Regions from separate parts of the Homo sapiens genome. Here all the other regions are linked to region 1. Evidence: promoter capture Hi-C in 16 types of primary human blood cells and fetal thymus (Javierre and others, 2016). All regions are on one chromosome and are shown on one strand. The core of a region is centred on a gene start or on the middle of the fragment in contact, and the rest is flanking DNA. Distances in the headings are between cores, read along the strand shown. Region 1 holds the start of CSMD3 (CUB and Sushi multiple domains 3). Region 2 overlaps CSMD3 (CUB and Sushi multiple domains 3). Region 3 has its middle 680 kb from the start of CSMD3. Region 4 overlaps CSMD3 (CUB and Sushi multiple domains 3). Region 5 has its middle 670 kb from the start of CSMD3. Region 6 overlaps CSMD3 (CUB and Sushi multiple domains 3). Region 7 has its middle 640 kb from the start of CSMD3.

Region 1 (4,314 bases), core at 1,023-3,522:
TCAAAGAAGGCTATGACATACTCTTCCTTCTCAATATCTCCAAAGCTAAACCGATTATATCAGTCCAAAGTAAATTAACGCGCCTTTCCTTTCTATCGGCGCATCTCATTCGGAAAATACGGTAGGTGCGGGCAGCCGGGGCTCTAATTGCAGGCGGCGCGGATCAGCGTTAGTCAGGCTGTAATGCTCGCCCCGCTTCGGAGACTTCCCTCCCCCTCATCTGCCCCCGAATGTGTTTTGGCTCAACAGGTATCACATGAAAACTCGCACTTAAACCCTGGTCATCTTCTCACAGGAGCCACCCTTACATTTTTCTGCCAGGGCTGCTGCTGGCTATTCGCGCCTCCCCCACGCGAAGCGCGCGTCTAGCAGGCAGCCCCAGGGCCATCCATTAACCACCAACTCCCAGTGGCAGGCGAACTAAGCATAAATGTGTGGCTCCTCACCCGTCGAGCCAGCGACAAAGAAACCTTGTAAGCAACCTGAGCCGTGCTTTGTACATTTGGCAGTGTAGTTGTGCCACTTAGGACAAGCTTTTCGGCTCAGAGCTGCTCTGAGGCCCCAGAGAGAAAAGAAAAATCAAGCTTCAAGGAGCAGGTTGGGATTACAAGGCAGTTGCTGCCACAGAGACCGGGGCGACTGACTTCCTGGCATTTTGGGATGTAAATTAAAATTCTAGACATGCCACCCATCATTGGTTATAGTAGAGGGAAAGGTAACCTCTCCAGCTCCCTCCTCCCAAAACATGAATTATCATTTCCACTGAATGCAAATGAGCTGCCTTCCGTGGGGGGACAGCCAGCTGCAAGCTGGACAATAAACTGTTTCATAGAGACGCGGCCCGATTGCAGTTCAGAGAGGCACTCCTTTACAAAGGAAGAAGCGTCCAGTTTGTGTTGACAGCCCTGGCGCGCCTGGGCCAAAACAGCACCCCCTTTCCCGCGATCCCCCGCCCCCCCGCGACACACAGACACCCGGGATTTGAAACTAGCTTCACTGAAAGCGGCATCCATAGCGTCTATTCGAGCTGCCATGAGTATGGAGAGGTGATTGTTCAAAAAATGATGGCATGAGTCATAAACACCTCCTGAGTATTCTTTGCAGCAATTAATGGGCAGCAGGGTGCCGGAGAAGTTGTGGAAGAGAGCTATGGATCTATTTTCTCCCTAAGGACAGCTCTTTTTCCCATGATCCTGACTGTCCCTTGCCTTCCTGCTTGGGAATACATTTTTACATCCCACCTACCCCCTCCCCTATCTGTGCATGTGACACTCACTCTACCTGTCTGAACGCTGAGACTTGCTGGGGATTTTCTTTTGGTCGTCAGCTAATGACTTTCCTCCTACCTCATTCATCCCTTAAGGTGGTTCTTTACACTTCATGGCATTTCAGACCCTTCGAAAGCCTCATTTTTTGCCAAACCTCTACCACAGGTCCTAGGGAAGCTCCCCTACATTTAACATTGCATAGAAGCCCAATTTACATACATATGCATGCAGACATTCATGTTGATGTGGCAGTGCTTGGAAGATCCCTGTGCCCTAATGCATTTAAAATCAACACATTCCTAGCACGTCGATAACTTTCTTCCCTGAAAGGGTTAAAAAGCATTTAGACCAGCGTCTTTAATATATATATTCCACCCAAAGCCTCAAGCCCTAGTGATCTGACAAGAAATCAAGGTAATCCTCACCACTAAGAAAAGTCTTGCAGAGGAATTCTGCCTGGATATCCACTAGTTAGAGGCTATACTAACCAACTCACGTATTCGTTTGAGCATACTGCAAGAATATTTATTGAGCACAAGCTCAATCACCGCATTGAACGCCAAATCTGGCAAGCAAAATGCATTTCCTATCTGAGGGGGGGAGAACGAGCTGTGAATCAACTCCTTTAGTATTATCAGATTATTTTATCGGTGCAAATTGCAAAGTAAGCTGCCAGCCTCTCTCCATCTACAAGTCAGCCCACCTCCATCCAAAGCGGAGGGGACCCCCAAAGCAGACCTACCTTTCACACAAGACACCGTCAATAAAAAGACGAGGTTCCAAAACGTAAATCCACTTTTAATCCCCATTTTCTTCATCAGGATGAAGTCTAGGCGGCCACATTTAGCGCATCTTCGCTTGCCAGGCTCCCAGGGTTTGGATTCCTTTGCTCGGCTTTCCCCTTTGCGGATCCCTTTCATATTATTCGCGAGCTCCTAATTCCTGCTCCTCAGCCCGGCGCAGTGGAGTTGTTGCTGTTGTTGGTGCGCGGTCACAGCTCGGAGTGAATGGTGTTTCTGGGATACCACAGCAACCTTGACGAGGACTCAACCATCTCTCCAACGGGGGCACAAAGTCTCCGCTACTCTGGATTCTGTCTTTTCTTGTGCGTTTTTTCCCCTCCACCAAAATCTACCCCAATTCTGGCTCGTTATAGCAACCACCAGAAACCACTAGTGAGCCTCTTAAAGCCCACCTCTGCTCTCTGATAAACTCCACACAATATTTGAAATTAAGGGGCTTGCTTTTTTTCCCCGAATAGATCAATTCTGCCTGTAAAAGCAGCCCAAGAAATAATGTTAGTGAGCTCTCCGTTGCAGGCTGCGAATACAGAAGCATGTCAAAGGAATATTTTAATCGGAGGATCTGTGTTGCTTTTGGGGAAACCGTGACGATAATGAATCGGGCTCCATCGATGCCCACGTCGTTATAATGGGACATGTGTTACTACTGTAGTTGCAGTATATTTCAGGCAGGCTTCTCCCATTTATTATCCTGTGATTTAATTGAAAAAGGAAATCACAGAGAATTTTCTCAATAAATTCTGCCTTCACACGGAAAAGAATGTATTTGAACACATGTATTTACATACTCAAATAACTACGTGTAAACCCTTCACCGGGTTTTTATGATTCGGGAAACGGATTTCATCCGTGGCCTGGGCGGGGGTGGGGTGGGGAGGGAAGTCAATGTCGTTTCCTCAAATAGTTCTCCCTTTCATCCTCCCAACCCCCTTTTCAGTTTGTGTGTGCCGCAGTTAAACTACTTTATCTGTGGTAGTTATCTAGAACAAACCCATTTGTCTTAATTCTGAATCGGTACCAAATATGTAAATAGGAGGTTTCTTTCAAAACGAAAAATGTATGTATCTATACATCTGGATCTGCTTCCCCCATGCACCACGCAAGGGTTAAGATTGCACAAGGGAAGAGTTCTTGCGCCATCTACTGGCCGTCTCCGAGCCGCCCGTTCTTCCTTCGCATGTATAAGGGACCCTGTTTTTGCCATCCCTTGGTGTCAGGGGAGCTGTGTCCCCGGGACCAGTATGTCGTGCTCCTTGATTTTTTTCGACCACGGTCCTGGCCCAAATCTTTCAATGAACAAGTTCCTTAGATTAGGCAACTGATTGGTGATCTGACCTTTTCGGGAATCTGGTCCCCTCTCAGCAGTGGGGAGTGCCACAGCGCTAGTTCTGAAACAGGATATTGCTGTTGCGTGTGGCTCCATTTAACTGCCTCAGGCTATCATGGGCGTGAGCGTCTATCAACAAGGCTTAGTCTAGAGGACTGCCCAACTTGAGTTTGCAGCTCCCTGCACTGTGCACAAATAATGGGTTTGGTCCCGTGCACCACAGCATTACCCTGGCCAGCTTTGTCCCTTGGCTCGCGTTGGAGCTGCCCGCTCAGCAGAGGAAGGCGTTAGAATCTGGAAGGAGTTCCGCTCTGGGAAGTGGGCACACTGCGAGTGTCCATAGGTTTGAGTGGCGAGTGAGTTCAATCTGCAGGCGTAGGAAGGCTTCTGATCTCTCGGGGTACGTGGCATTGTGTGTGGGCCTGTGATTCTCCCAGTTCGTGTGTGTGTGTGTGTGTGTGTGTGTGTGTCTGCGCGCGCGAGAGCATAAACGCGCTGTAGTGAGAGGTAAGTGTGCGTGTTTATGAAAGATACAAAGAGTGATTTGCCATGCGTAGGTGTTTTCCCAAGTGTATTTTTGCAGTACATATGCGTGTGCACGCCTGTGTGTGTTTGTGTGTTAGAGAGGGATTTCTGTCCTGGGTAGGGAGCTGTAGCAAAAGGTAAAAGCTGTAGACGCCCAGCTGACCTCATTAAATTCAGAGAGATACTTTAAGAGCCCTCAGGCAGAACATTGTCCCTTCTTTTCAGTGCTCTCTTTCATTGTCTGCATATGCAGGTTTCGAAGGGGAGTGGGCAACAAGGTAGGGACTAGACAGAGACTGGGAGGATCAACATGGAAAACGACATTAGCCTGCTAAGCCACCTTGGCAGCTGCTCTGGCATTGATTTCAGTCAAGATGTCAGCGTGTGGTGT
Region 2 (4,314 bases), core at 841-3,340, 690 kb before region 1:
GGTATTTTATTACCATATATCCTCTTTTTTGAGAACTGATTCTACTGCAAGGAAATGAAGAAGACTGACTACTGAGTATGATTGACACAATTTTCCTATAGAGAATGGGAACAGCAGGGCAGGGCCTGCTTAATGGATGTGTGGCCTGTATAGTCACACAGGGTCCACTCTCAGAAAGGCCTCATTTTTGGTTTAGTGCTTTTCTGCTGTGACCCTGAAATTCTTAGTAATTTTAAATAAAGGGTCCAGTATTTTTATTTTGCAGTGGGCTCTACAAATCATGCAGCTGGTGTCTGGGAGCATGAAGACATACTTAGCACATATTCTTAAGTGACTCTGTGTGTACACACATGTGAGTGTATTTGTGTGTGACTGAATGTGTGCTTATTTGTACATGTAGTTGAAAGAAAAAATAAAAATGATATTAAAAATAGCAAACTAAATCTTAAGAGACAAAAGCAATTAAGCTTGCAGTGGAAAATAGTTTAAAATAATTTCCTCATATTATAAATGATATGGCAGTAATTAAGGCTTACATTCTCACCAAAAAAAAAAAATAAATAAATAAAAAGAAGACATATGAGCAATGATTTTCAAAGTGGGAGATCAGAAGATGAGTATTTTCCAACCTCTCATATGTTTTAATTAATAGCAAGAGCATATCAGTCTTAATGATGAATCATTCCTTTTAATTTCTAAATAACGCTATGGATTAAGGCAGTCTTCAACAAGGAAAAAAGCCTAATAACATCTCAGCCATCGGGATGGATATTTCCTTGTGATTCTTGTGATTATGTATATGTATACAAAAACTTAAAAAAATCCTTTGGGAAATACCAAAATAGATATTATTATAATTTTTAATATATAGCAAAGCTTTCTCTTTTTCTGATTTTTAGAGAAGACAGAATTGCCTCTCTAGTAATGTGAAATTTCATTTAACATTTAAGATATAAACTGGATTTTTAAAATGTGTTTCTTTAAAAGGGAAAATAGTTTTTACCATGTGCTTTTTCTTTTAAATACTTGCATCATATAAATAAAATCGTTCTGATAAACACCTGGTTCAATTTTGCATACCTCATGGAATATGCCAAGTAAGACAATTGCCTCTCACTGGTGCCAGGATATTTCATTAAAAACATATGATTAAACAAGATAAGATAAACAGATGTACAAGCAAGCAAATCTGATATAACCGCCAGGTAAAATTATTTCCTGAAGAGAACCTTAAATCTATGAAATGGTCTGTTAGGCAATGTTATTATATGCAGCATACTAAATATAATTTTTATGAAAAGGTTGTCATATAAAAAAAGACAGAACTAAAAAGGAATGAACATTTAAAAAAATTGTCTCAGATGTACTTCTGGAAATTTCAGAGTATTAAATGTACTGCAACAATTTGTCCATACCACAGCAAGCTCTGTCTCTGTTATATTGAAGGATTACTGTTGAAAGAATGTCATTGAGAGCCTAAACTAAATCTAAGAACTTCTACATCAGAAAGAAGTTTACAGAGATCATCAGATCTTAAAGAATGATGCCTTACTCTCAAAACATAATTCCCATGCCATTTCTGGATGTAACAGTTTAATGCATAGATATTAGAACAGTACTGATTTGAAATAAGTAATTGAAATTATTTCTCATTTTTAACTTTTATTTCCTTGGGAAAAACATAGGAAGACTTTTTTTGTGTTTAAAATACAGTATTTATCTTTCAGTAATCACATTTACTAATATAAAATACCTATTTTATAGATTAAATGATTGTAATTATTTATAAATTGTATGACAGTAAGTCATGGTTTCAAATGGAGTACTGAAAGGGAGAAAACAACTCTGTCCTTAATATAGAGATTTTTTTTTCTATTTTTCTTTCTTATTTAGGCAGTTATTTATTTTTAATTATTAAATAAAATGAAGAGACGACTTTGGGCGTAGGTGACAAAATAAAACCTCACAGATCTGGGTGATTTAGAGAATGAAGAAAAGTCAGCTAAACAAGAAATGAGACAGCTTTCCAAGTGCAAATAGCATTACAAACAAAGATAAGAGACAGCAATGGGCAAGATGTGTTGCAGGTAACCTGTGCAGACTGGTCTGGCTAGAGAAGATGATTCGGCGGTCAAATTAAGAAGCTCCAGCTTTATCTTGAGCACACTGTAAACCTATTTAAGGTTCTTAAGCAGGGAAATGACTTGGTCACATATCTGATTTACAAATATAACTCTGAAGATGATGTGTTTGAGGGGACAAACGGGGGTGTGCACGTAGTTAGTGCAAAATGAAGCACAGTTATGATACAGGTAAGCGTGGTCAGCTGCTGCAAAACAGACCTGAAACAAACTGGTGAATTGTAAATTGGTACAATTTGATAGTACCCTTAGGAAGTGAGAGTGGGAATAACTGTGACAGTGTGTACTTAACACTGTTGAGTGTTTTCTCAAGAGTCCAGGTAGTTATAGTAAGTTGTAATTGAGAGAAAAATATATCATGTTGGGAGGGCTCACTGAAAACTTGTGTAGTTCCTAGGTTTTCTTCCTTTTGAAGAATGCACCCCATATCATATCAAACAAGAGAAAAAATAGTTTCTACTATATATCATATGTTCCAAATTATAAAAATAATGCAAAATAATATATTTTAAGTATTTTTTCAAATGTAAAAAAATAAGTAAATGGGTTTGTATATTGTTTTGGTCTTTTACTACTGTACAATTTACTTATAATTGGCTATGCTTTCTGTAAAATTATTATGCATACTCAGAAATGCTTGGTTGATAAAGTTACCCAGCATATTAATTTCATAGTAATAAACTTTTACTGAATATTAAATTCAGCAATTAATGAAGTTATAAAATGAGTTTGTGTGGATATTCATGCAAAAATTTACTAATGTCAATTCTAAGTTTCTTTTTTTTGTTTTTGGAGTTGTTTTTATTTTTTATAATTTTCAAATATTTTTATATACTACTGAAAAAGTTTAGAGTCCTTAGGAAATATGACTATAATGCTTACTAATACAAAATGCCCCTAGATAATGTAGGGTATTTATTTTATAATAGATACTTTAAATGTCTAACATAACTTCTAAGAACATGTTTATTTCCAAAATCACAGAAGAAAAACAGGGAGGAAATAAGAACTAAAGAAACATTTTGCTAATTTTTTTTCTTAATACAGGTAATTATTTTGTTTTTTTGCAGGGAAAATAAATCGATGGGCAGTGTTATGATCAAACGGCAGTTGACAGTTATTCCCACAAACTTTGAACTCACCTTTTCAGTATGGGAAACTCATAAAGCTTAAAACTGTATTTATCAGATTCCCTTGCAACTATAGTTTTATATGCTAATCAGATTATTCCAATTAGATGTAGCCTCCAGATATTTGGAATAAATAAGAGAACAATCTCCTGACGCTTTTGGCTATTTTTTTCTGTTGACAAGTAAGACTGTAGAGATAGGAGTTCACCCCTCTCTTTGCCAGCATTATTACTGCAATAACTGTTCTGCTCCACTGGTGTTAGAAAAGCACTTTAAATGGAAGTAGCTTCCTGGTCTTGGTTTCTTGGTCCCTAGATCTTAGCTATAGTGAGTGGTGTGTCTTTGCTCTTAGTGATTTCAGACAGCACTTAATTGTCTACCTTCTTGATTGTGATAGAGTCAGTAGCTCCCCATGTGGTATTCTGTGACTCATCCCTGGAGGACCATCTTCCAGCTTGCTCTTCCAGCCTGTCTACAAATTTGAAAGCACCTAATATGCTTTATTAAAATCCTCTCTCCTTAAAATATATAGTGTTGTTCTTTCTTACACTGAACTTGTCTGATGTAATTAGTACCTCTTTCTTTATGGCTGTTTTATTAATAATAGAATAGTTATATATATTATTTATTTTTGAATTATCTCTATTATTACATTTGTATATTTTGCATTCTACTGCCTTAGGGTCTTTTGTGAGCATGACTATAAAGAAAAGTTGCCTAAAGGCAACCCCTGTAGCAACCACCTCCAGCATTTGTATCTGACAATATAATTCAACATGCTGTCCTAGGAGTGGAAGGAGAGAGAAAAAGACTTGGAAGGATAGAAATTCCTTTGCTTCTACCACTAGCTACCTCTTCATGTTGTCATTAACAAGTCTCTATTCACTATTTTTCTTTCTGTTGATTTCAAAATTCATGTAGACATTCTACCCAAGAACTTTTTACTTGACCTCCTCATTTCCAAGGAAATTTTATTTTACTCCATCGCAGGCATTCATTTACATGCTCAAATACAAGACTGTGTCATTTCCAAGAAAGGTACT
Region 3 (4,314 bases), core at 1,003-3,502, 680 kb after region 1:
GACTCCCTGAAAGTTGCACATAATATCCTTATGACTACTCAATATCTGTGAATTTACTAAAAATAATTTCTAGAGTACTGTAGGGGTTCTCATTCTGAGATGATAATTTATCAAGAGAATCACACAAATTATGTTTTAATTTTTTTAAATTCTATGAAATAGACAAATTTGATAGGTATTTTATGACAACTACTATCATTTTCTAATAACCTGTAGACTTCATATGCAAATCTACTGCTCTAGATGCCATTTACACAATGGAGAACAAGATAAACTTTTTGTTTTAAATGAAGCTTGCATTCCACTGGAAGAAGGCAGAAAATAAAACTATTTTGTATACTCACTTAGCAAAGGATTCTCTAAAGAAGTGATACTTCAGACAAAACAGAAATGATGAGAAGTTAGCATCCATGAACCCTCAGAGCTCAGATAAGAGAACAACAAAAGCCCCAAATATAACAAATCTGGAAATTTTAAGTTGTTGGGAAGATTACTGAGCAAGAGAAATGAGTTTAAGATACAAGATCTAAAAGGTAGGCAGGAAACATATCCCATCTGGCATTGTAGTTCATGGTCATTATTTTGATGTTTACTCTTGCTGTCCTGGAAAATCACTGGAAGCCATCAAAATAAAGAGTGAAATCATCTAATATATATTTTAAAAGATAGTTTTGCCTGCTATCTGGAGAGTAGATTCTGTGGAGGTAAAAGCTATACTAATAAGTCCTGTTTGGAGGTTACGGCCACAGTGCAGATGATGCAAGATGACGGCTAGGTTTATGTGTGTCGTAGTAGAAGTGGTGAGAAGTGGTAAGGTTGGAAATATATTTTGGAGCTAGAATAGATAGGACCATTGGTGAGCTTGCTGTAGAGCCTGAGAGCAAGAGAAGAAACAGTAACGTTTGGCAATAGTATCATTACAGCGTCGTCTTCTTTATGCCCCCAAGATGTGAGTACAGAGACAGGCTGACATCTGAAATACTGAACAATCTAATTTTCTAAAAATCAAACACTATGTGTGTTCACAGGCTCGATGTTTCATCAAGTTGAGATAATCATCGTTTCCAAAAAAAGCTTTGCACTTTGGCATTCCATTTCTTTGTAATGCACTTCACTCTGCCTGGAATGATGTAGATGGTTCACCTCCGCCTCTCAAAACTTTCTTCATTTTTTAAGAATTAAAACAAATGCTAACTCTTAACAAAACTTTTCTGAATCCTATAAAAGGATCTCTTTCTCTTTAGTAGATGCTCAGAAAAAGTAGAATAATTAGAAGTCCACAATTAGTTCAAAAGTAGACCTACCAATTATCATTTAAATTTGCTTTATAGTGTATTTTAATTCATTATTTTAAATGATAAGATGAAATACAAAAATTTTATTCTGTCATACTTTTGCTTTCTTTTTTAAGTCAGTTATAATTGAGTAGCCATCAGAAGAATTTGATCATCAGAGGCAGCCCACATCCAATTAATGAATAGAAGCAGGGGAGGGTACAGTAGGATAAGAATGCTTGGCCGAATTACTTGAATTTGAGAGAACTTTGAAAGACTATCTCAGCTCCAGAACTTTCTGTGGGGTTGGCCAAGTCTTTTTTGCAACTGTACCAGCGTTCAATTTCTCTGTCTGCCCCACCTTGTTTCCCACCCTATTCTCCAGATTTTGTTATCAAGCATTTCCCAATAAGCCTCATGTACATGAACCTATGTTTCAGAATCTTCTCTAGGGTGCATGATTTCAGAATCAAATCTGATAAAAATAATAGCAAAATTATTTAGGCAATATATTTATCACAAAATTAAAACATGCAGTTTCATGAACGTCACATAAAGTTTAGTGAATGTTAAAATAAAACTATTTAAATATCCATTCAGTAAAAATGGCTTTAGATGAGTGTTCTGATCAACTTTTTGTGCTTTTTAAAATATATAACTTTTTTCATATTTTGTCTTATTCTCTTTCACACTAAGTTAGAAAAGTCTAGCATTTATGTGGCATTATAAATGGTAGCAAGGAAACATATAATAATATTGATATTCAGATAAAATAGAGATGAATATTATAAAGTTTGTGTTTAAGTAAACAAACCTTAAAAATTATATACTTTTAGTGAAAAAATCACTAATTCAATTTTGGTTATATTAGCATTTTTCTTTTTGAAATTTGTCCAATAATATGCCATTAATTTTTCTCTGCAATAAATAAAGAGAACTTTCAAATGTTGAAAAATTGTCAACCACTTGAGCCATTTTCTAAAATACCGTGATTTTATGTTAAAATTAAATGAATTTAAAGCTATGAAGTGAAACGGTAAAAATATTTAAGATACTGAATATTTTCAGTTCACTATCTCAAGTGCTAAATTCACTTGAGCAAGACACTTTACAGAAATAGTCTTCAGCCTCCTTTGAATCACAAATAAATTAATTTTTAAAACCCATTTCTATTTTCAAAATTTTGTTTGAGTATATTCTCACTTAGCAGAGGACAAGCAATATCAGTAAATCAGATTCTTAAGTTCTGTGCCCATGAATTTTTTTTCTCATGAACCAAAGAGGATTTGCCATTAGTCTTAATGCTTTAATCATATTCACAATTTTCACTGTATATTTCAAAAATTTGACCACCTTCTCTTCTCTCTAGATAAAGTGGCCTTTGGATTCACTTTCAAGAAAATTCCATTTTATCTCTAGTAAGTCCTTTGTAATGGAGAACCTATAGTAGTACTGTAACCTCCTTCATGAATTAGTCAGCTGAAAGCAACACCACAGTCCTCATCTGCAACTTTTAAGACTATGCTAATCATTATTTAGAGTGATTTCTCTAAAAATAATAATTAATATTAAATGTAATATGTTCAACATATAAATGAAAAATGTATTCCACTGTCTTCTTCTGCTGAAAATTTCAAAACATTTGCAGGCTATTTTCCATACTCCAAGGAAACCAGTGATGTGTGGCGTATAGAACACATTTTAAAATGATGCAGATTTAATGATATTAAAACAAACTTCAGTAGGATTATTTTAATTAAAGTGATATTAATATTCTGTGAGAAATTTGATAATTAAGAGTATTATTATAAAATGAAAAATCCACTGTAGTATACACACTGTATAGTATAGTACACACTATAAGATGACAATTATACTTTACATCTATAATCATTAAAATGTTAGTAGTGCAAGAAATGACAGATAAATGGAACAGAAATAAAGAAGTTATAATACCCAAAAGAGGCAGAAAGTGGTGAATAGGTTATTAATAGCAGAAGAAATGCAAATACTAATAACTATGAAAAATTGTTATCAGCATTAATGTTATATTCAAATAAATATCATATCTGTCTTGTAAAATTGACAAAGCTGCTCCTAATACTTCATGCCTGTAAGAATTATACAAGCAAAATGATATATTATTTTAAAAAATTTGAAGCTTAGTCTTTTTAGAAACATTAACTTAGAAGTATTTTAAAACGTTAAAAGTATTTATTATGGTTCACTAACAATTTTATCTAGGAATTCAACCAAAGACACTATCAGACATGGAAAGAAAGATTCATGAGCAAGTACTGATTTAATAATAAGATGGATTGAATCAAGTACAATGTGACAATGTGATAAAATATTCAACCATTATAAATTGTATAGGAATAAGTTACAATGACATGAAAGAAAGTTGCAAAACACAGTTAAGAAGAAAACTAAGACATAATACTATGCATACTTATATGCAATATGATTGAAATTGATAGATGCATATTTGTGGGTTTTGTGTGTATGCATCTGTGTGTATATATAGTTGCTATATTTTCTCCTTACATTATTACATAATATTTCACAATGAATATGTTTTACATTTATTATATATAAAGGTAACACTGCAAGCTCTGCTTTTTTAAGAGAAAGACTTGCTCGTTCCAGAACATACTGCAGATTAGAAGAAAATAAATGAAGCTGAAGAGTGTATGTTTTAGGAATAAACTAGGAATAGAAGAAGAAAACATTCCAAGAAACAGATAAACCTAAAGCAATGATAGTTACAGAAATAAAGTAACAAAAGTGATTATAATTTTTGCTTATTCTTCATTTTTTCTAAAGGCCTATGTATAACAAAGAAATTCAAAAACATTGTAATTTAGGGGTTGTTTATTGTATACAGAAATTCAAGTTACCTAAGTGATTTCAAAGTTAAATAAATAATAATTTGAACAATAAAGCTGAAGTTTAAATAAATAATGGACAAAAGTTTGAGAGCAAATTATTATTGTTGATACATAAAATAGAATGCAATGAAGGCTTATTTCACTCACCA
Region 4 (4,314 bases), core at 1,012-3,511, 680 kb before region 1:
TGTGTTGAGGCAGGATTATATAATTGGTTTGTGAAATTATTACACAAAATAATAATTCAAAGACAGGGTTTAATTTTATAACTCTGGAAATAGCATGTTTTCGAAGATATATAGATTTCTATCAGAGTAATACTGTTCTTAGATTTATAGTTTTGCATTACTCTATTACACAAGCTTTGGTTTAATTAAGGCAAGTTAGTGATAAAAGGCCTAAATTTACAGCTGAAGAAATTAATAAAAGTCCTCCTTGGTTCTGACTTTCAGGAGGAAGACAGGATCAATAAAATAAACATCTGTGAGATAAAGGAGGCTTTTCCAATTATATTAAGTGATACACATATCATGCCTTTGATGACCCATCCTAGGAAAAGCTCTCTGTACTATAGAAGAGTTAGTGATATTATCATCATAAATAATTATAATATGCTTCAAAAATTCTCTATTAGTGTCAGAACTCAGGGTTCGTAAATAGTTAAAGGTTTATACAACCTGAAGAGAAACCAGAATGTAGATTTGAGTCTTGAGACTGATAAAGAAATCGTCTATGGTGATTCATAACATTTATATTACATTGAAATGTACAGAAACAATTTTTGAAATTCTATTTGGTTCTTACTACATGATTTGATCTTTGCTGGCAATATTTAAAGATTAGCTACTAAACAGCAATTGCATATGGTGATAGAACATAATATTGTGATAGAATACCCATTCTGTATTTGATTAATGTATCAAGTACCATATGCTATTCAATTTGGAAACTATAAATTGATTTTATTTTCAAACTATTATTGTAAAATGTGTTATTTTCGCAGCCTTTTAGTGATCTTTTTGCTATTCACTGTAATTTTCTTTGTCAGAATATAATCTTGACTGAAAGAAATCCTATTTTTAAGCAAGATTGTGTCTCATAATTACCATTCTCAGAATAATAGCTATTATTTATTTAGTGTTGTGGGTGTCAGGCACTTTTCTAAGTACTTTAAATGTGCTTCTTTCAACAACACTATGAGATACTGTTATGAATCATATATTCCAGGTTTGGAAACTGAGGCAAGGTAAGTAACTCTTCAAGGTCACAATGCTAATAAGTATTGGAATCCAAATAATAAACCAGGCCATGTGACTCCAGTACTAAATTCTTAACCATTGCATTCATTGCCACCACACTCCCAAAACACTATTCTATAATCAATTTTGCTAAAAATTTTCAGAATCAGATATTGTGACAAATAACAATCAATATAGCAAGCAGACATTAGATCAAACTTTTAGGAATGAAACCTTTTTATTTAGCAAAGTGAGATGAATTAATATGTACTTTTTATTCTTCAAGAGCAGTCACTGACAGGGACTAGGAGAATGGGGAGAAGAAGGATTTCTCACTTCCTTTTGTAAAGATAGACCCAGATGACTTCAAGCAGGCACTTTATTTCAGTTATTTGTTGGGACAACGTAAAATATTTCAATGAAAAATGAAATGTGTCAGTTGTCACATTATTTTCTTCATTTATACTTCATGCTAAACCTGACTGTTAAATTATCAATAACCAAAAGGTTTTCTACATAACTTCTATGAAAAGTTATTACATATAAATGTAAAACGTCCATTAATAAAAGATTTATAATATTTGCTAATGGAAATTGAAGCCCATTAAATTAACAGTGCATATTGCATTGCTTGGATGCAATCAGTTATTGTACAAATAAAAATATTCTTATCATCACATTTCCCCTTGAACTTCAATGAGTTTTAAAAGCAATTTGTAATTAAAGGTGTTTTTACATTTTGGTAGACTTATTCCCACCATAATCTCCAGCACCAATCTTCATCTTGAGGCAGAACAGCCAGGCCAGTGCTGCTCTTTTAGGGGAGGGATAGCCCAGCAGATCTGCAAGGGTTTTCTAGTTCAAATGCATTCTGCTTTGAGTTAAAAGTCTTTTGAGGCATTGTTTCTGGATGAAACTCTTCTTTTTAAAGTCATAGTAAAGGACAAGATTCCCTTGGAGAAGATGTGATTATTCAAATGAGCTTCAAGAATCGTGCCCTCCGAACATGGTCTTTGTCAGTACAAGAATGTCCATGACAAAAAAGCTGAAGACTGATTAAGAGTTCACTTATATCCCTTTTCAACAGAAGCAGACACAATCTCTGTTCCAATTTTCCATGGGACACCTTCAAATTACCTTTTCAATTTTTCTAATTTATTTACTAACATAGAGCCAACTCGAGATGTAGTTACTGGTAGTTTCATGCCATAGTTTCTTTTATTTCTCATTAAACATGCCACTGAACAGTAATATCTCTATCATTTAAAAAAAGGGAAACCACCAATGGAATTATTTCAAAAGTTGATTCTAGTTTGGTTTGAAATACACTGCTAAATTCTTAACTTCAATATTATGAATATGTTTTTAGAAAAGTATGTAGAATGTATTTTTACATTACTTAGCTAATTTATTCTTTTAGCTCCTTTTCATTTTACTGTCTGATCCACAATATTTTCAAAGTAAGCTACTAGGATCTATCTATACCAGAGATAAAATATCCTGTAAATATTTTTCATGATAAGTGTTACCCCTCTTCTATTTTCCTAGTCAAGCATAAATCAAGATGTTAATATTTGCCAAAATTCTGGCTCTTGTAATTTGTATGAAAGCAGTTTAAAAAGTTGTGAACCATATTTACAAAAAGTTTTTTTTTAAGTCTGTGCTTAATTCATGTCTTTAAAACTATACTATACAAACATTTTTTATTTTGCATCTCCATCAGTGAAACGTTGTGCATGCACCCATATTTATTTACTTATCATTTGTGCAAGTTGTGCTAGTGTATTAATACACCATGTTCCATATACATATGTATCCATGTGAGTATATATGTGTATGTGTATGTGCATGTGTATGTAAGTGCATGAGGAATCAATGCAATTGGCCTTGTGGTATTGCCAGTGGATCCTGACTTTACTGCAACCGAAAATCTTGAAGGTGAATGTTTTAGTTCACAAAGACAGCTACGTGGACAATAGTATATTTATAAGATTTTCACCTTTAATATAATCTATCATGCTTGAAAAGTTGTTATTATGAACCTCAACCTTCTGGTTTACCTTCTGCCAGCAGTAGAGGTCATTTAATACAGATGCTTTGCGTAAGTCACCACCAGATGGCATTCTTGTGTCTTTGATCATACACACTTATTTCTGAACTAAGAACTACTTTATTATGTGAAGTCTTTAACTAAAATTTATCTGCATCATCTTTTTAATTATGAGAACGAGGCAGCAGATATGTTACTTTGCTTACAGAGACTTAAGTTCTAGTTTTGGATTCTTTACCCATATTGGGAAAATTCTTTTACTTTTCATTGTACATGTATTGTCATAAATAAAGGATATCGGATTAGATGATTCAATTCAAGCATGTATTATCAAGCAGCTGTTCTGTCCATAGCACTGTGTTAAATGTGATGGAGGATATGGCAGTGAATTGTCAATGCTTTTAAATAGTTTAAGCTAGGCAACAGATATTTAGTAGACCTCTTTACCTGACTTCTATTTAATTAAATTGCCAGATTCTCTGTTGTTTTATATTTTCTTGGTAAACACACTGAAAATAAGAGGTGGGCAGATTGTAAAAAATACAATATGGCATACGAAGAAGTTTGTACTTTATTATAGAATAGATTACATGAAATAAACCACTTAAAGTTATCAAGTTGTTATTGTTTGTTTGAATTTTGGCTGGTTTCTGTTAATGACATAGGAAATTACATAATCAAAGTTGTGTTTCATAAAGATAAATTTGAAAGGAAGAAAGCATATAATAGGGATAGAGAGACCAGTGAGAGGGCTATAGTGCCAGAAATAACAGAAAGACAATACAGCATGATATCACTCATATGTGGAGTCTAAAAAAGTTGATCTCATAAAAACAGAGAGTAGCATAGTGGTAACCAGATGCTGAAATCTTAGCGATGGTGTGTTGGGAAGATATTGGTCAAAGGATGCAAAGTTTTAGTCAGATAGAACTAATTAGTTCAAGCGATGTATTGTACCTGATGACTATAGGTATTAACAATATTTCTAGAAAAATGCTACGAGAGTAGATTTAAAGTGTTCTCACCACAAAAATGATAACATTGTGAGGTAACATATATATTAATTACCTACATTCATTCATTCCACAATGTACATATATTTCAAATATCATGTCGTAGATGATAAATACTAATATTTTGTCAAGTTAAAAAAATAAAAATCTTTGGCATCTGCTCAAAAAATTACTTATTAAAATGATAAAATGAAAAAATCT
Region 5 (4,314 bases), core at 588-3,087, 660 kb after region 1:
ACCCTGTTTACTGGATCATACTTGCCTTACTCTTTACTGTAATGTCTTATCTGAAGTTCACTGTGTGCAAATTCTCTTTGAATGTTTATGGCATTCTCTATGTTAGTTGGTTTATATCATTGACCATATCATATTTCATTTTTATACACTTCATTTTTATCCAAATCTCTGAGCACATGCCTTTTACAAAAGGAATGCATAATGAATGCTGTGGTTGAATTAGATTTATACATTTATTTTTGTAAATCTTCTGCAATCTCTGCAAACTACTGTGTGTCACAAGGCCTTCACTTAAAAAATAAGCATGGAATTTCAAATCCATTAGACCTAATGGTCTCGAATATAAAGGAGTTCAAAGGAATGAATAAGCAAGTTCTCCTCTCTCAGTTTTCCCTGCCCCATGTGTTTAATCAGTTTACAAAACATATAATCACTGGGAATAAATACATACAGCGTCTTCCCAATGTTTATCTGTTATCTATTTTTTAAATTATTATAAAGTTCCTCCATCTGTATTTTATCAGGGACTGTATCTCTATACAATGACTTATAAAATATTTTAATGTGCTTACAAACATTGTGATGATCTATAAATAAGGGAAGTCTAGGACATTTTTAGTACTTATCTTGAGTGTATCTCATGCAGACAAAAATTAATCCAATGTCACTAATTAGAGATGTTGAGGTTTTGTGGACATCCTACCAGATTTAAGACATGTAGAAACAGAATTCTTTCACAGAGTCCTTTTACAGTTTGTTATTAAAAACTAAACCAGTAATTATTAGTTTATAATGTTTATAATGTGCTATAATATTCTTTTTTAGTGTAAAAAGATCTGGGATCCTCAGACCCATATATGAAATTATTGGACATTTAGTAGATCTAATAGTTTTTAAAATATCTAGGGGAGGTCTTAAAAATTGGAGGAAGGACTTATAAATGGAGGAATCCCTTCAATGAAGTATAGTAGAACAGTTCCTAGATGAATATATTAAAAGCAAATAATAGAAAAAAGATAATATTCCAATATTTATCATTTTTAGTAACTTGCATTTTAGAATAATGTAAAAATGTAAAAGTATGGAGAATTGTAGCCACTGCCTATATATAAATAGAATCGTTTTTACAGTTATAATATTAGGTGGCTCCTTTTTGAATCAATATGGTAATTTATGAACATATGCACACACAGATATGTGATCAATATATTATACATACGTATAGAGTTTATATATTGAATATATTATAAATGCATGTAATCAAGTATAATTAAACTGATATATACTTTACAATTTTATGGAGAAATAATAGACTGAATATTTACTACATCTAGTGATGTAGAAAGAAACATTTAAAATGGCTTACAAAAGAAGGAAAGTAGAAGAAAGTCTATGAAGATTATGTGCCACCATATGTCAATAGAGAGACAGGGTTCCTATAACCCAAGGATAAAGAATGAAAACAAACCTATTCTGTGATGTATTACAGTGATAAAATTGATATACTGCAGTCTTTGTGAAAGCTTTAGGCTTTTTCTTCAATTAAAAGCATATTTGAGCATACACCATAATTCACCATATGGATGAATCTGAATTCTGTGAATGGAGACAGATTTGCTATATAATATATTTCTGTATTTTTTTAAACTTCATATTCTTTTGTGAGGCACTTTTTGAAGGAATGAGTTTGTTAGGAAATTTATTTGAATAATAAAGGACTAAAGAGTATCAAGTTTAAACTTTTGATGGGGCTGAACTTTGTTAGCATTCTTATGATTAAATTTAATGGCATAAGAAGTAGCTGAATTGGCATTCAAGGCTTAAATAAAGTGAAAAAAATTTACAGATTTATGGCTGATAACAGATTTATTTCACTTCTCATTAATTTTGTGAAAAATACAGACTTTATGCTTCTCTATCATAAGCAATATTAGAAGTGATATTAATTATGTTTTACTTGAAATAAAAATGTCAGTTTTAAAATTTGCTATTATGACTAATTATGGCATTTTTGAATCACAACCCAAGACCCAAAAAACAGAAGTATAAAAGTATAATCTAAGCAAAATTGTGGTGATCTCTAGAAGTAAATAAATAGGAAATTACTGTCTAAAACATGTCAGAAATGTTGGCTAATTGACACTGGGATTTAAAAGCTTTGCTCTAAATAACATGGCTAAATATTGAAGGCTAACTCTAGCCCCAGGGATATGTTTTTTAATAGTCTTCTTGTATTAATTGTATCCAAAAGGTTATATAACCATTTAGTACAGTTTGATTTAATTATAAGCTAATTTGATAAGGGTATGAGTCCATCAGGAAGACTATTCAAAGCATAAGCTATCTTTACATGGCAAGTAGTTAGCAGAGTTTATAAAATGTTTACAGTTATGCCCAGATTTGACTGACTCACAATAAAGTTAATTACATCTTATCTTTGTGAAACTGATGTTACTTGTTTTATTTTCGACACTTGAATTTTAAAGCATCTCATTTTTGGGAGGGGGTATCATACAACTGGAAGCCTTACAATGATAAGCTAAGTAGAAATATAGCTAAAAAGCACTTTTGAAGCTGTTTCAGGCTACCGATAGCTGTCATCATTTAAAAGTAATTGCAATATAAAATTAATTATGTTGTCATAGATGAACAGTGACTCCTCTCCCTTCAAAAGGCAGAAAAGAAAGAGAAATGTAGTTCATTTCTAAATGCGGCACCTCTTCAAACTAGAGGTGGAGCTCAAAATGAGCTTCAGGTTTTATAAGATTGAGAAACTGATTTCATTATATATTTTCCATCATGTGACAATATTCACTTTCCAATTTTTGCCATCTGTCTCCTCTTATAATTACTGCTTAAAAAAAGAAAAGAGTTGGGGTGGGCACAGAGTCATTCATCATGTGGCAGTTTACACTGGTGTCTATTGTGGGCTACCATCATAATACAATAACCTATGCAAATAATAATAATAATATGTAGTGTTTTAATGCAGATAAAAGAAAATAAAACAAGAATAGTGTGTTCACAAAGTGGTTAAAGAGCATTTTAATTACAACCCCTACCATCAGCTTCCAGTTGTGTTTGTGAATAACTTTATAGCCTTAGACGCTTTTGATTAAAATCACTTTATTCTATGATACAAATAGAAAAGTCAAGGTGGAATTCTACTAAAATTGTTGCAAAAAATTTAAAAGGAGGGACTCCTCCCTAACTCATTTCATTAGGCCACCATCATGCTGATACCAAAACCTGGCAGAAATACAACAACAAAAACACAAACTTCAGGCCAATGAACATCAACGCAAAAATTCTCAATAAAATACTGCCCAACTGAATCCAGCAGCATATCAAAATCTTAACCACCACGATCAAGTCGGTTTCATTTCTGGGATGTAAGTTGGTTCAACATATGCAAATCAATAAATGTAATTCATCACATAAACAGAAGTAAAGACAAAAACCACATGATTATCTCAATAGACAAAGAAATGGCCTTCAGTAAAATCCAACATCCCTTCATGTTAAAAATTCTCAATGAACTAAGTATCAAGGAACATACCTTAAAATAATAACAGCCATATATGACAAACACAGCCAATATCAGACTGAATGGGCAAAATTTGGAAGCATTCGCCTTGCAAACCAGCACAAGACAAGTATAACTTCTCTCACCAATCCTCTTCAACATAGTATCAGAAGTTTTGGACAGGGCAATCAGGCAAGAGAAAGAAATAAAGGGTATTCAAATAGGAAGAAAGGAAGTCAAATTATCTTTGTTCGCAGATGACATGATCCTGTATCTAGAAAACCCCATTGTCTCAGCCCCAAAGCTTCTTAAGCTGATAAGCAACTTCAGCAAATTCTCAAGCTACAAAATCAATGTGCAAGAATCACTAGCATTCCTATACCCCAACAACAGGCATGCAGAGAGCCAAATCATGACAACTCCCATTCATAATTGCTACAAAGAGAATAAAATACCTAGGAATACAGCTAACAAGGGAAGTGAAAAACCTTTTCAAGGAGAACTATAAACCACCACTCAAGGAAATCCGAGAGGACACAAAGAAATAGAAACATTCCATGCTCATGGATAGGAAGAATTGATATCATGAAGATGGCCATTCTGTCCAAGGTAATTTATAGATTCAATGCTATTCCCATTAAACTACCATTGACATTCTTCAAAATTAAAAGAAAACAACTATTTTAAAATCCATATGGAACCAAAAAAGAGCTTATATAGCCAAGACAATCCTAAGCAAAAAGAACAAACCTGGAGGTGTTATGCTACCTGACTTCAAAATATACTAG
Region 6 (4,314 bases), core at 1,257-3,756, 660 kb before region 1:
GAAATAATAAGTACTTATAGATAGGCCTTTGGAGCCAGGCTTTCAGGATTATACACTGCTTTTTATGCAGTGTAAGATGCCCACCACTTATATGCCCCCACTTTGCTGACCTGATATCACCTCTCATCTGAAGACTGCCCTGATACCTTGTCCCTTTGTCAAATTAATTACAGGGCTTTCTCCAATGCACTACCATCATAATATAATATTATTATATGATATATTATCATAATAGAAACTTGTACTAAAACTTCTATTATTATGTTAATGGGTATACATTTTTATTTGTTCATATCCATGTCTACCTCTTGTCTAACAAGGCAGAAACTGCCTTAAAAGAAGAACTCAAGCATATAGCATCTGTCATAGCATAAATCCAAAAACTAGAAGTATTTAATAAATGTTAGTTGAATGAATCACATAAATTGTGATTTAAATATCACTGAATCAAGCTTTTATCATTTTGAATTCCTTGTTACTTATATTATATACAATAATTTATAAATTAAGTTTCGTTTTTTAGTAAGTCAAGTTGTAATCATTCTTCTTTTATTTTAAATCGTAGCAAAAAATATTTTGGTGAATAAATTAACATACTTGAAAATTTACACAGACTTTCTAGTTACAAGCAGGCAAAATAAATCAATTATTATTCACAACTGAGTGGGCCTCAAAGTCATATGATTATTTAAATGTAAGATGTGACAAACTAAAAATAAAAGTGAGTCTCACTGTCATGGATCTACTTAACCCACTTTGCCAATCTAGTTAATTCACAAAGCAATATATTTGTATTTCCTAAGCACCCATTGTGTGTTTTAACTATCTTCCATCTTTGCATAAAATATACATATTTAGAAAATGTGCTAATTTTCACAATAGTATTCTAAATCTGAATCATAAAAACTAATACCTTTTATCTATATATAGAAAGTTACCTTTATTTGCTGTAGTTTTACAATAATTAGGTCAGTATTTTGTAGGATTACAACTAAGACAGCACATTTACAACTTCTAGCATGATACTTGATATATAAAAGGTGCCCAAAAAAATGTTAGGATCTGTCTCATTCCTGACAATTGCAAGTAAGCCACATAAGGAGAAAATAGATTTTTCAGAGGACAGCTTATCTTTTAGAAAATGATAGAGCCTCATTTACATTTTCCTATTGACTCCTTATTTAAACCATGGGAAACATAACAGCCGTATCACCTGTATATGCACAATAACCATAATAATTTACATTGTGAAAGGAAATTCAGTGGATACAACAAAATAAGGTTCTTACCCAATGTTGCTTTTTAAAATTATTATTGTATTTTACCCCATTATTGAATCATATTTCTCAGTTTTTTTATTATCTTCATAAATTTTCCTACTAAATAATCCACCAAATTATTTTTCTTACGAAAATACATCATCATCTTATAAGCTTCAACTTGACTAAGATTTAGGCAACAAGAATTTGAAGTGTCAAAAAGATATAATTTACTTTCTTTCATTTACTTTTGGTATGCTGCTGTCTAAATCCTGTCTTCTAGACTAAGGTCAGATTTTCAAATCTCATATTTTCTATGGTGTCTTGCAATTCTCCATTTTCTTGAACATTAATCTTCTATTTTCAGATCTAAAAGGGTTGGAAAAATTGCCTTAAGACATATTGTGAGCAGCAAGTTTGAGGTAGTGTGAGCTTGACCAAAAATCCTATTACATATTCCTGGATGCTAATGAATATTTGAATTAATTTTTAAAATTGTCTTTTAGTTCTAAAGCAATGACCATTATATTGTTTCCTTACATTTCCCTCAGAAGTTTCTATATGTTAATTCTATATCAAGGCTGTTTGAGAAACACATCCTTGGGTAAGGAATTTTAGTTGATTCACTCGTGTGTAAAGATTAACAATAAATATACAATTTAATTTATTTTAAATCTCATCATATATTTTTATTGACCTCCCAACCTCTGCTGTAAAAGGATCCGAAACATAAATGTGGCTCTGGATAGAATGATTAAGCATGGGAAAAGCTTTTGTACATTTTTTAGTATGTTATTTTTCCATCTTCATTTTCTTCTTTTAAGCTGTATTTCTGGAGGGTTATGCATCATTTGTGACCAAAATTTGGAGATGCTGTGCCCAAAAATGAAAGACAAGCAAAAATAATAAGCACACAATATATTTACAAATACGTGTTATTGATAAAATTCAGCAAACTTTCCAGGCTTTGTCTGGTTCTTTCATTTAAGTAAAAGCAATATGAAATTTTTCTCCCACATAATTTCACAGAACACAAACCACGGAAAGAAAAGTAGTATGTTTAATGTAAATAAATATTGGTTGTATTTTATACTCTATTTTATAGCTTGTGTTGTTTGAATTTTTCTATTTGTATAAGGCATTTTCATCCTGTTTAGGATGCCTATTTAATGTATCTAACAGCTTTAAATGCAGATACTTCTTAATAAGTATTAGTTGTTGATGATATTATTTATGAACCATAACAATTGCCAGTATGTTCAAACACGATTATTTTAAAAGGTGTAAGCCAAGATATTTATACAAAGATAATTCAATTTGAGTTTCTATTGTTCCTCAAAGAAACAAAAAATGCATTTTCTTCTATTTGAGGAATTGCTTTGAAAATGCCATGACTTGGTGACCACGACTGAATTAAAAGACAGAGACAATATTCCATTTCCTTATCGCTACTAGGGATATATCAAGCAGAAAATGAAGACATTATTATTTTGAATGAGTTTTTCAAGTCAGTTTGAGTCAAAGTTTGCCTCCAACATATATTTAATGTAGTCTGCAATGTTGTGAAAGCTGAAATAAACATGAATGACACTTGAGAGCACTGGCCAGAATATGTTGCTTACTGATGCCCTGATACTTTTTTTTAACCTAAAACATTGCCATGGAAATTGAGTAGTAGACTAAATCAGAAAATCATATTAAATATATCAGTGAGAACAGCCACCTTAAGCTTTCCAATGCTTCTACTAACACAAAATAAAACATTTTATAAATATTTGTGGACAACTTTGGAAGTAGTAATGACTACTTTTTTAAAAAATCAATAATCTTTGTTTTTAGAGCAGTTTTGTGTTCGCAGCAAAATTAAACAGGAAGTACAGAGTTTTCATATACTCCCTGCCCTCCTTCACGTACAACCTCCCCAACTACCAACATCCCACACTACTATGGTACATTCGTTAAAATTAATGAAACTACACTGACACATCATTATCACCCAAAGTCCGTAGTTCACATTAGAATTCAGGCTTGGTGTTGTATATTCTGTGGGTTTTGAAAAGTATGATGGCATGTATCTACTATTGTCATATTATGTATCATAGCTTTACTGACCTAAAAATCCTCTTTGCTCTGCTTAATCTCTCTCGCTCCCACCTAATCCCTGGAAACCACTGATAATTTTATTGTCTCAATTGCCTTTTCCAGAACATCATATAGTTGAAATCATATAGTATGTAGACTTCTCAGATTGATTTCTTTCACTTAGTAAAATGCTTCTAAGTATCCTCCATGTCTTTTCATGGCTTGATAGATCATTTCTTTTTAGCGCCATAGTTTATTTATCCATTCACCTACTGAAAGACATTCTGGTTGCTTCCAAATTGACAAATATGGATAAAGCTGCTGTAAACCTCCATTTGCAGGTATTTGTGTGGACATAAGTTTTGAGTTCATTTGCGTAAATTTCAAGGAGCATGACTGCTGGATTTTATGGTAAGAGTATGTTTAGTTTTGTAAGAAACTACCAAACTATCTCTCAAAATGGCTATACCATTTTGCATTTCCACCAGCAATGAAACAGAATTTCTATTGCTCCACATCATCACCAAGATTTGTTGCCATCAGTGTCCTGGATCTGGGCCATTTTAATAGGTAGCTAGTACTATCTCATTGTTTTAATTTGCAATTCCCTAATGACATATGATGTTGAACATATTTTCATATGTTTAATTGCCATCTGTGTATCTTTTTCCAGTCTGTTCATATAATTTGCCCATTTTTTTAAATAAGGTTGGTCATTTTCTTATTGTTGAATTTTAGGCACTCATTTTGTATTTTGGATAGCAGTTTTTTATAAGATGTGTCTTTGCAAAGATTTTCTATTAGTCTGTAACTTGTCTTCTCATTATCTTGACACTGTATTTTGCAAAGATGTGTGTGTGTGTGTGTTTGCGTGTGTGTGTGTGTGTATATGTATTTAACATTGACCTCAGCAGTAGCTCAAAGTTTTTCATTAATATGTGGGTTAATCTTTGTGGCAAACTATATTATTATT
Region 7 (4,314 bases), core at 505-3,004, 640 kb after region 1:
ATATTAAACAAATACTTCCAGGGAAAAGTTTAGGATAATATTTTTACTAAATTCAGGCAAAGACATTGCTACCTCATTTATTAAGTGAATGCAAACACTATAAATAAAATATTAGTAAACTGCATTCAGCAGTGTGTATATATGATAATACATTATGGACAAATAAGGTTTATCCCAAGAATGCAAGGTTGGTGTAATATTAGTAATTTAATTACGGAGGTTTTGATATTAACAAATTAAATAGAAAAATCATGTGATTTCCATAAGTGCACGAAAAGTGCTAAATAAAATTCAACATATAGTCACAACTTTTAAGCATCAAGATATCAATAAAAAAATAAAAAAGATAATAAAGGATAATTTTGAGCTAATAAAGGACAGACACATAAAACTAGAAAAAAGAAACACTGTTGAAGGGTGTATTTTGAAAGTTGTTACTATAAGATGAGGAAACAGACAAGAATGCTCCTGACACCCATTCTTCTTCAGGAAAAGAAATCAAATTAGAAAAAACAAACAAAGGCAATTTTTGCAGGTATCATGATTGCTTGAGGAGAAAACCATAAAAATAATCCAAAAATACACAATGAAAATATATTAAGAATATTTTCTGATTACAAAATCATTATATAAGTAGAATTTGTAAAAATCCCTAGTTATTAGTTAATAATATAAGCCAAAAAAACAAAAATGGCAAATAAAATGTAAACTTTTTTAGAATAAATGAAGGTAAAAATTATGCCTTCATAGACAAAAGTACAAAATTGTATTGAAAATGTAACAGGGACTTACAAAAAAGTGAGATGTATTATAGAATAGATTAGCAGTCTATCATATAGATGCCAGTTCTCCTCAAGTCTATCTATAGATTAAATGCAATTTCAAATCATATTTCAAAAGGTACAGTTTTTGTCTGTGTTTGTGTGTGTATGAGAGAGAGGGACAGAGAGAGAGAGAGAGACTTCTCACACCCCCTTTTTTTTTTTTTTTCTGTGAGACAGAGTCTCACTCTGTCACCCAGGCTGGAGTGCTGTGGCATGATCTCTGCTCACTGCAATCTGCCTCCTGGGTTCAAGCGATTCTCCTGCCCCAGCTTCCTGAGGAGTTGGGATTACAGGCACCCACTACCACGCCCAGCTAATTTCTGTATTTTTAGTAGAGATGGGGTTTCATCATGTTGTCCAAGCTGGTCTCAAACTCCTGACCTCAGGTGATCCACTTGCCTCGGCCTCCCAAAGTGCTGGGATTACAGGTATGAACCACCACACCTGGCCTCACACTCATTCTAAAATGAATATGGAAGAACAAGGGTCACAAATAATCAAGACACTTGCAAAGAATTTAAAATTTAAATGACTTTTTTCTGTCAAAATCAAAATTGAATATAAAGCTTTAAGACAGGATGATATAAGCAGAAGGGCAGAAATACAGAAAATACGCAACATAAGAACAATTTGTTGTATATGTAGTACTTAATCTATAACAGAATGGGTCTTGAAAATCAGACAGCTCAAAAAATGGTGGTAATCAATACATTTTGCAGCAAATATTTGCAATTCTAAAAACTCCTTATGTTATACCACAAACAAAAATGAACTTTACACTGATTAAAGACTTCAATTAAAAGGTAAGACTAAGAAATGCACAAATGCTATTAAGAAAGAAAATGAGAGCTTTTTTTTTAATTGACCATGTGAAAGGAAATATTACTTAAACCACATAGAAATAAAGCTACAAACTATACAGAGGAAAATAGATACACTCATTCAAATTCAAATTCAGAAATTTGTAATTTTAACTTTCCCATAATCCTATAAAAGCAATGAGGAGAGAAGCCACAAAGATATTCCCAACGAAGTACGGTTGATTTTCATTCTCTGCAGTAATAAGTGTTATAAAATCTCCCTGAGCACTAATTTTACAAATACTGACATATTGCTCCTAGAGGAGATACAGGATTAGGTTCCTGTGAGCCTGTGGTCACAACATTTTTATCAACTGACCAATGCATAACCTTCTTTTATGTATGATTTTGTTTAATAACACCTTACTTAATATATATATATTATTGATTAATTAACAATAACTTATGGCCAATTGCACAACTCATGCCTAATTAAAGCTTCTTTAACACATGTATTTTCTCTATAAGGCACAACATTACCTCCTTGCACTTACTAACACTAGACAGCACTTAATTACTATGCTTAGGGGGCATTTTCAATGCTGAAATCACCAGCAAAACACACACACACACACACACACACAAATATGAGAAATATGACACTATGTAGACCATGAAGAGAGTGCTTCTTTATAGTATGAGAGCACAAACCTGAAAACAGAATGTCGACTTGGTCTGCCTCAGCTGGGATTGTGCATGTTCAAAGCGCAACTCAAATATTTTGCTGTTCCGTGCATATCTGCTAATGAGCACAAAGCACTACAAATATTGATTGTAGCATTACCAGTTAATTTTGGCAAGGAGGCAAATTTGCAAATATGGAATCAGCAAATACGGAATCTGCAAACACTTATTCAAATACCAAATGAAGATTCACTGGATTAATATTTGGAATGTATAAAATATTCCCTATGAATTCATATAAAAGAGTAAAACAATCCTGTAGAAAATGGGCAAAACATGTTCAAAATTTGTCATAAAGAGAAGTCATGACCAACCTTTTTAGTAATCAGGGAAATGTTAATTCAAAGCATGATTTTATATTCCTTCCTAAAGATTATAGTGAATTATAAAGCCTAACAATAAGAAATATGGGTGAGAATGTAGTACGATAGGATCACAGTAATATTATTTTTAGTAGTATATATTGAATTAGCCATGTTAAAAACAATTTAACATTTTATATCATAAGATTAAATGTTCATTTTCTACACCAAGCAATTCAATCTAAGATATATGCCAATGGGTAATTTTTTGAACTTGTGTACCAAGAGTCAGATATAAGAATATTCAGCTCTGTATTTTCATAGTAGCAAAAATATGTAAACATCCCAAATGCATATCCACAATGGGATGGACAAATAAATTATGCCATCTTTATGTAAAGGAATACATAGGAATGTTCAGAAGTAATAATGAATGAAGTGGTTCATCAACATGAGGGCATCGACATGAGTGGATTTCAAATAGATAATGCAGAAGCACAGAAGCAAGTGATAGAAGAATACATATAATGGAAACTGGTTAAACCATTTAATAAAATAGATAATATCAAACAATATTTGGGAATTGATAATACAAAATCCAGTTGTGAAAGATAGAGTGAATTGTAAATATGGTGAGATTCCTCAGAGAGCTTTTAATATGAAGGTAACATCCTATTATTTCTTAACTGATGATTATATAGATGCCATTATACTATTTTTCCAGGCTATAATATAACTTTCATGCTTTCATGTGTTTGTATAATATCGATCAAAATAAAATAATAACATCAAGATTACCTAAGAAATAAGAACATAGTTTGCCTCTTAAATTTGTAGAAGGCTTTAAGGTTTGCGATTTATTTTACTTAATAAAACTTAAATTGATGAGACTGAAATATAGACATATATATGAAAACATGAATCTGTTTTAGATGTTTTGTTAGGTAAAATCATTCACAAGGCCTAGAGCCTTCTACAAACGAGAGGTAAACCATATTGTTACTTCTCAGGTAATTTCAACTTTACTGTTTTTATTTTGATCAAGAAGAAAGAAATACCATAGTCAGTTCCCTTAGGAGAAAGGAAACTGCTTCGTGCTCTGTTTGTTTGTTTTTTAACACACTGAACAACATTCTCAGTCATTTCATCCCAAAACTTAAGATATAAAAAACACTTCCATATCATTATTCTCTGTTGAAATTTAAAGCAGAAGGAAGGAAGGAGTTACAGATAAGAAGACACCAAATTAAGTTTAGCTGCATAAGTTTAGTCTAACTCCTGTTTTGTTTTTTCCATACCTCAATCACAGCTTGCTGTGAATATCTAAGTTCCATTCATTTTGCAAAATCTACTCTTTTTTAGCATTAAATTAAAATTCTTGCAGTGAGAGCAAGAAACCAAAGAAGTATATTTGTAACTACTGAAAAACAAATTCAGCAGCCTTTTTGATAAATACATTTTTAAAGTAGGATATATTTAATTGGATTCATGATAATTAACTATAGGTTCAAATGTAAAAACAATGCAACTCCAGTCAAATAATGAGTGTTCAATAAATAGTAGGCATTATTATCATTATTCTTTTCTGCAATGTAAAAAATCCATAATCAAGAATATTTCTCCAACTTTTGGTAACAGGTAAAA

What was found. The method cuts DNA at HindIII sites, captures the fragments that hold promoters and counts their contacts. A CHiCAGO score of 5 or more calls a contact.
Region 2: a fragment that was not itself captured here is called in contact with the fragment with the promoter of CSMD3 in region 1 in 1 of 17 cell types (M2 macrophages); the score reaches 5.3 in M2 macrophages.
Region 3: a fragment that was not itself captured here is called in contact with the fragment with the promoter of CSMD3 in region 1 in 1 of 17 cell types (megakaryocytes); the score reaches 5.2 in megakaryocytes.
Region 4: a fragment that was not itself captured here is called in contact with the fragment with the promoter of CSMD3 in region 1 in 8 of 17 cell types (M2 macrophages, megakaryocytes, M1 macrophages and 5 more); the score reaches 24.4 in M2 macrophages.
Region 5: a contact is called between a fragment that was not itself captured here and the fragment with the promoter of CSMD3 in region 1, in 1 of 17 cell types (megakaryocytes). The highest score is 5.6, in megakaryocytes.
Region 6: a contact is called between a fragment that was not itself captured here and the fragment with the promoter of CSMD3 in region 1, in 7 of 17 cell types (M0 macrophages, M1 macrophages, M2 macrophages and 4 more). The highest score is 10.9, in M0 macrophages.
Region 7: a contact is called between a fragment that was not itself captured here and the fragment with the promoter of CSMD3 in region 1, in 1 of 17 cell types (megakaryocytes). The highest score is 5.0, in megakaryocytes.

What each region holds. Positions count from the first base shown.
Region 1 is chr8:113,434,667-113,438,980 of GRCh38, forward strand. It overlaps CSMD3 (CUB and Sushi multiple domains 3), which reads right to left and starts at 2,273. Exons shown (of 71, transcript NM_198123.2): 1 at 2,011-2,273. The coding sequence starts at 2,188. RefSeq lists enhancers at 857-1,367, 3,145-3,194, 3,207-3,707. The HindIII fragment of the contact is 6,354 bases long and covers 583-4,314 here.
Region 2 is chr8:112,742,752-112,747,065 of GRCh38, forward strand. All of the region lies in intron 13 of CSMD3 (CUB and Sushi multiple domains 3), which reads right to left. Among named protein-coding and RNA genes, the nearest start is that of MIR2053, 100 kb to the left of the region's middle. The HindIII fragment of the contact is 2,433 bases long and covers 875-3,307 here.
Region 3 is chr8:114,116,471-114,120,784 of GRCh38, forward strand. No RefSeq gene overlaps it. Among named protein-coding and RNA genes, the nearest start is that of CSMD3, 680 kb to the left of the region's middle. The HindIII fragment of the contact is 2,361 bases long and covers 1,073-3,433 here.
Region 4 is chr8:112,758,932-112,763,245 of GRCh38, forward strand. The region is part of intron 13 of CSMD3 (CUB and Sushi multiple domains 3); the gene reads right to left. Among named protein-coding and RNA genes, the nearest start is that of MIR2053, 120 kb to the left of the region's middle. The HindIII fragment of the contact is 4,178 bases long and covers 173-4,314 here.
Region 5 is chr8:114,100,027-114,104,340 of GRCh38, forward strand. No RefSeq gene overlaps it. Among named protein-coding and RNA genes, the nearest start is that of CSMD3, 670 kb to the left of the region's middle. The HindIII fragment of the contact is 633 bases long and covers 1,522-2,154 here.
Region 6 is chr8:112,774,971-112,779,284 of GRCh38, forward strand. The region is part of intron 13 of CSMD3 (CUB and Sushi multiple domains 3); the gene reads right to left. Among named protein-coding and RNA genes, the nearest start is that of MIR2053, 130 kb to the left of the region's middle. The HindIII fragment of the contact is 959 bases long and covers 2,028-2,986 here.
Region 7 is chr8:114,079,042-114,083,355 of GRCh38, forward strand. No RefSeq gene overlaps it. Among named protein-coding and RNA genes, the nearest start is that of CSMD3, 640 kb to the left of the region's middle. The HindIII fragment of the contact is 732 bases long and covers 1,389-2,120 here.